Linked DNA regions of Homo sapiens: region 2 is linked to region 1. The links are contacts of gene promoters, found by promoter capture Hi-C in human tissues and cell types (Jung and others, 2019). All regions are on one chromosome and are shown on one strand. Each heading gives the region's core, a stretch centred on a gene start or on the middle of the fragment in contact. The rest is flanking DNA. Distances are from core to core; before and after follow the strand shown.

Region 1 (3,013 bases), core at 339-2,838:
AAAAATAAGTTTTTTATACAGAGTTTAGACATGAAAAAACTGATGTCCAAAGTAGTAAAAGGAAATTGTCCAAGGGTAACTACTAGTGGAATCTAATAGGAATCCATGTCTCCTGCTTACAGGTCTTAGTCCTTTTGTGTTTGTTTGGTTGGTTGTTTTAGGACCTCAGATGCATTGAATTGGTTCATTTCACATCCTTTTGTTCATTTCACATTCTCCTCATTAGTCCATACATGGTTCTATTTTATTTAGTTACACAGTAATTTTTAATAGGATATTAGGTGTCCTATGAATCACTACCCGGCATAGAAGATAAGACATTAACATCTAAACTTCAAGTGAAATGCTTCCCCATCTATTTCCCTGCCTCCCTTCACCCAGGGTCACCAACACTCTGAACACTATATTCATTGTTCCACTGCTTTCCTTTTTATATTGTTGTATATGAATATATGAATACACATTGACATTTCTAGGGATTTTTTAAACTTTATAAAAAGCATATTATGCTATATGCAATATTTTGGGGATATCATGCTGTACATAATATGAGGGGCCTGTAGAATTGGAGATGTTTTTACCAACAAAATTAGGTAATCACAGTATACACCACCCCGTGGTGTGTGTGTATATATGAACATTTATTGTGTAGACACATCAAACTACCCAGTCTCAACTTGAGACATATTTAAATGCACTCTTCATATATGTGTGTATGTGTGTGTAAGTGTATAGTAGTAAAGGTCTATTCATTCAGCAAATATTTATTGTGTGCCTGCCATGTGTCAGGAAGTACTAAATACCTTACTGTGCACACACGTGCAAAACCAAGTGCAACACTCCACCCCCCTAAAAAAAAGTCCCTGATCTCATGGAAATAACATTGTACAGAGGGAGAGACAGACAGTACATAAAATAAATATGGAAAATATAAAGGATGTTAGGTGATGTTACGTGCTAGGGAAAAAAATAAAACATGCCAGATCCTCAGGGACTAGGGTTTGCCGTTTTAAATAGAATGCTCGGCGATGAACTGGGGATGAGGGGAGCGGGGAGTCTTTATTTAACGGGTGATACGGACGTAACTTTCGAGAGCTGAATCAGAACCGAAGTAAACTCTTCGGCAACCCCTGCACTCAGCCTATAATGTCTGTAGGATAACAGGCTCAGCCGCGGTGGATGGCCCCCGGAGAGACGATGCATGTCTTCCCGCCTTTCTTCCGGCCGGCCATCCTCTCCGCTAGAATCGCCCTGCCCGCCGACGCCGCACCTGAACGCCGCGCTGCTGCGGGCGTTGTACACCAGCGCGACCACCGCCTGCCGGCACCTCGCCTTGCCGCCGCGCGCGCGCAGCCCCGAGGACGCGCTCGGGGAGCGCGCACCGCCCGGGGCCGCCCTCGGGCCGCTCCCAGGCCCCTGGGAACGCGCGCGCGTGCCCGGTCCCGCGGCCTCTCGGCAGGCACGCGGCTGGGAGAACGGCGCGCGCCCCGCTCGGCAGCTGCGGCGGCGGCTGGTGTAGGCGCTCACGTCAGGGCTGGGAGGAGGGGGTTCGCAGCTCAGAGAGAGAGAGACATGAGGCAACCTGGCAGGAAGCGAGAAAGAGTTCGGCGAAGAAGGAGTGAGTTCTAGAGACGCCCCGCGAGCAGGACCCGCGCCTGCAGGAGAGCCTGGCCGACCCGGCTCCTCGCCTTCTCTGCGCGCTCTCCCGCGTCCGCTTTCAGCACCCCGAGCGGAGAACAGTTCCCGGCAGCCCGCAGCGCTGCCGAGTGGCCGCCGGCCGGCCGAGTACCCGGAGCTCCAGGGGGCTCAGGAGCACCCTCTGAGAACCCGCTGTGCACCCACCTTTTCCCCTCTTTTGGTGGGCAAGTAAGCACGGGGGAAAAGCATCCGGTGGCCTCAGGGAGCCCTGAAGAAACCGAAGCAGAATGTACCAGGGACACATGCAGGTAAGACATTTCTATAGGGCTGGAGAGAATTCTTGGGGGCTAATTTAAGAGCAAGGCGGTTCACCAAGTTTCTGTGGTCAAGTGCTGCCTTCGCACAGCTCAACAAGTGAAGTGATGCAACATGACCGTGACATTTCTGTCCGGTGCTGCCGGGAAAACTAGACCGGTTTCCGAAGGTGGGAGAAGGGGAGGGAAGACCTCAGAACTTCGATTGGGGAAGTTTGTTTTCTGTGCATTCCCTGAGCCTGTTTCTTTAAACAGGATCAAGGAATCGAAACAGAGGAAACCCTAGAGATGACCGTGTTTCCGTTGTAATCCTATTGATGCATCTCAGCATGTATGTCAACTGAAGGGCAAACAATAATAGGAAAGACAAAGCTTTTCCTTTACCATCTGAAAAGGTTGCTTGACTTAGAACACTCTGTCACTTTCGTTTCATTTTTTAAAGTGTTATATTTAAAAAACGATTTATAGTGTATTTTCCCCCTTCACATTATGGGACATTGCCATCTACTCCAATAGTCACAGGATGACTTGGGAGGATGAATTTCAAACACATGTCCAAGGAGCTCTAATGTTTTTCAGGGGAGGTGCTGCCTCCGGTTGTTATTAATATTCATCTGAGCTGAGCCGCTGCTTCTTTCCGATGCAAACACACTCTACTCTCTTGGGCAAGATTACTTTAACCTTGACTCCAGTTCTCATTCATACGGTTGGTTGGTTCTTATAAAGGCAGATATATGCTTTGGGAGAAAAATAAAATACTAACTCAGCTTTCTAAAGTATGAACTGGACTCTTTATCGCACCTAAATGGTTTAGTCATCAGGTTTGATGTTTGGGCTTCCTTTCCATTCCAAAGATGGTCAAATACAATCATTATGTGTGATGCCTTTATCCTGGTGTATAACATTTATGAATACTGAGGATTTTGCTTCTGTGTCTTTTAGAGCAATTGGAAATAGATAAATATGTTGTTATATTTATGACTTAGTACTACCCAGATTTAATTTCCATAACTTAGGGAAATTCTTTTGGACTATAATCCATTTTTAAATAAAACACAATA
Region 2 (2,977 bases), core at 72-2,571, 81 kb before region 1:
TCTTATAGATATATTGGTAAGTGAAAAAAATTACAGAAAAATATGTATACTATGATCCCATTCCTATCACAAATTACTGACAAACAAACCATATATGTGCATATATGTACATGGTTAGTTTCTGGGTGGCGATAAAGGGAAGCTTTCCCTACATACGTTATTTTTTCCAAAAATGTTTTCCTATATTGTACATATAATTACATTTTATTTTTAGAATCGATGGAATGCAAGCACTTGTGTGCTTTTAGAGGTAAAATTTTTAAATAAGGGAACAAGGTTCAGAGGCTCTGAAAACTCAGAGTATGCATTTTGGAACTGAGAAATGCTGAAAGAAGGCTTCAGTAAAATTCTGCAGTGAGAAGTCTGTCCATGGTCTTTCCTCATCTCAATATAAAAGAGGCTCCCCAAGGCTTTGGTGGACTTCCTTTTCCGCTGTGTGTGTGTGTGTGTGTGTGTGTGTGTGTGTGTGTGTGTGTTTTCTCCCTCACTCTCTGTTTGTCCCAGAACACTAGATTAAGAATGAGTTAGGCCTCTGTTCAGATCTAGATTTCCAAGAAAAAGTGGAAACTAATTTTTTAAAAAGAATGAGATAGACCTAGGAGGGGATTCTTCTCCCAAAACAATGAAAGTCTCCCACAACTCTTCCTCATCCCAATTCCTGCCCCTCCAACACCAAGCTCTACTTAGCATCACAGCACAGGGGTCCCTGACATGCAGCCACACCATGCTGTGGGGGAGAGTGTGGGGTCCCTGACATGGCAGCCACACCACGCTGTGGGGGAGAGTGTGGGATCCCTGACATGGCAGCCACACCACGCTGTGGGGGAGAGTGTGGGGTCCCTGACATGGCAGCCACACCACGCTGTGGGGGAGAGTGTGGGGTCCCTGACATGGCAGCCACACCACACTGTGGCGGAGAGTGTGGGGTCCCTGACATGGCAGCCACACCACGCTGTGGGGGACAGTGTGGGGTCCCTGGCATGGCAGCCACACCATGCTGTGGGGGAGAGTGTGGCGTCCTTGACATGCGGTCACACCACGCTGTGGGGGACAGTGTGGGGTCCTTGACATGCAGCCACACCATGTTGTTGGGGAGAGCTCTGCAGCTTGACACAACACTCCTGTTTCTCATCAATTATAAAAAGCAGCTGGCCGTTGAATTTCCCCATGGAGGCTCTGAATTCACCGGGTGATTTCTGAAGCCTTCTCATCTATTTTGGTAGGTTTCCTGTAAAGGATTCTTTATCAGAAGTGGTGAAGATTAGATAGATATCATTATTTAAGATGAATATTTCTTATCAAGAGCCAGGAACCACAGGCCAGGAACTGTAAAAATACATTTACATGCATTGCTCAATTTAGCCTCTGGACTTTATGAGGTAACAGCTATTGATATCACCATTTTACAGATGAGGAAACTGTAGCTTAGAAGTGTAGAGTAATTATCCAAGTTCACGTGGTTGGTGAGTAGAAGGAGTTAGGACTTAAACCTAAATTCAAACCCAATCAGTCTAATTCCCTGTAAACTTAACTACCACATGAGAACTAGTGTGGGCTGAACAAGAAAAAAACTGTTCCTTGACAAAATGGAACCTATACCTTAGAACTTTTTAAGACAAGCTGTTTGCTTAACTCTGGGGTTATTTATATGACAAGAGTTACATGAAATAGCAGGGTAAGTCCCAACCTGGTGTACATTTCTCCCAGCAGCATGGAGGGACTGTATTGATTTTATCCTCTAAAAACCTGACAGCAGGACAATGTCATCGTTTCTTTTTTACAGATAACATCAGCCAGCAGTTTTCAAACCAACTTTGAGCATCTCCATTTAGGATTCATTACCCTGGAAAATGTCCCTCTTATATCCATCAATGAAAATAAGCTGTTCTTGAAGGAGTCCTCAGAAAAGTCTACACCGAAAAAATGGACCTCAGAGTATATTCAGATTTGAAACACCTCACAGCTGGGAATAGATAACCTTTTCCTATCATCAACAAGAAAGCTGTAAGCACAGGGACTGGTATGCACCTTTCCAGAATCCTCTCGGGAAAACACATTCCTTTACATTCACTCCAGGCTGGAGATCTGAGAGGAGCAAAGAAGTGCTTTGCCAGAGCCCAATGCAAGGAAGCATATGGATCTGCTGCCCAGACATCCTCTCTCTGCACCTTCATCCACATAAAACATGGATTTAATGAGAAGAAGAAGCTGGCATAAATGAGAGAAGTCTCCAATTTTAATGACTTAATACTTTTACTTCAGAACCCATAAACAACTACCATCTGGCCTCATTTTATTTTTTATCACACCGGAGAAAATCTCAGCCTACTACATGATAAAAAAAAAAAAATCAGAATCAAATTCCTGTTTTCTCTCAACCCCCACTTCCAGCTCTGAGCACAGAGTTTTGCAAAGCAAATCTTCGCTATTATTCTTATGGAGAAAGAATTCTGGCAAGAATGAAAAAGAACCCAGAGGAAGACAAGCACAAAAGGTGTTTTGTTTCTTTCAAATCAGTGTAATTGATACAGCTGTGTATGAGAGCAAAGCTGTTTCACTGAAACAGATCTAAGCCCCGGTAGGGACTTGCAGGCCTTGGCGCCATTTCCCTCAGAGCTGTTCTCAGATTACCTTACCTCAGTCTACCTTTAGTGTCTCCCGTCAAAACACCAAAAAATATGTAAATAAAAAGTTAAAATAAAGAGAATTCTCAGTAAAGAGCTCTGAATTAGACAACAAAGACAGTTATTCTGTATTCTTTTTAGAAACTACCTCACTTTAAAAACATTTTTTAAAATAAATGAGTGGTACACAGTAATGAGTTTAATAAAAGCAAACTGGCTCAAGCTTTATAAAGTTCAGCCCTCTGTTCACGGTTCTGACACACCTTGGGATTTTCAGATGGGGGCAACTCTTACCCAGGGGTGAATTTGACCCATAATTTCATATTCTTCAGGAGAAAGAAGCAAATAGATGA

What was found. The method cuts DNA at HindIII sites, captures the fragments that hold promoters and counts their contacts. A contact is called where the count stands out against the background at its distance.
Region 2: a contact is called between a fragment that was not itself captured here and the fragment with the promoter of PEX5L in region 1, in 2 of the 25 tissues and cell types used here (hippocampus and pancreas).

The regions. Positions count from the first base shown.
Region 1 is chr3:180,035,512-180,038,524 of GRCh38, reverse strand. PEX5L (peroxisomal biogenesis factor 5 like) reads left to right here and starts at 1,588. Exons shown (of 15, transcript NM_016559.3): 1 at 1,588-1,946. The coding sequence starts at 1,926. RefSeq lists a silencer at 1,473-1,522. The HindIII fragment of the contact is 6,291 bases long and covers 1-3,013 here.
Region 2 is chr3:180,115,952-180,118,928 of GRCh38, reverse strand. No RefSeq gene overlaps it. Among named protein-coding and RNA genes, the nearest start is that of PEX5L, 81 kb to the right of the region's middle. The HindIII fragment of the contact is 6,221 bases long and covers 1-2,977 here.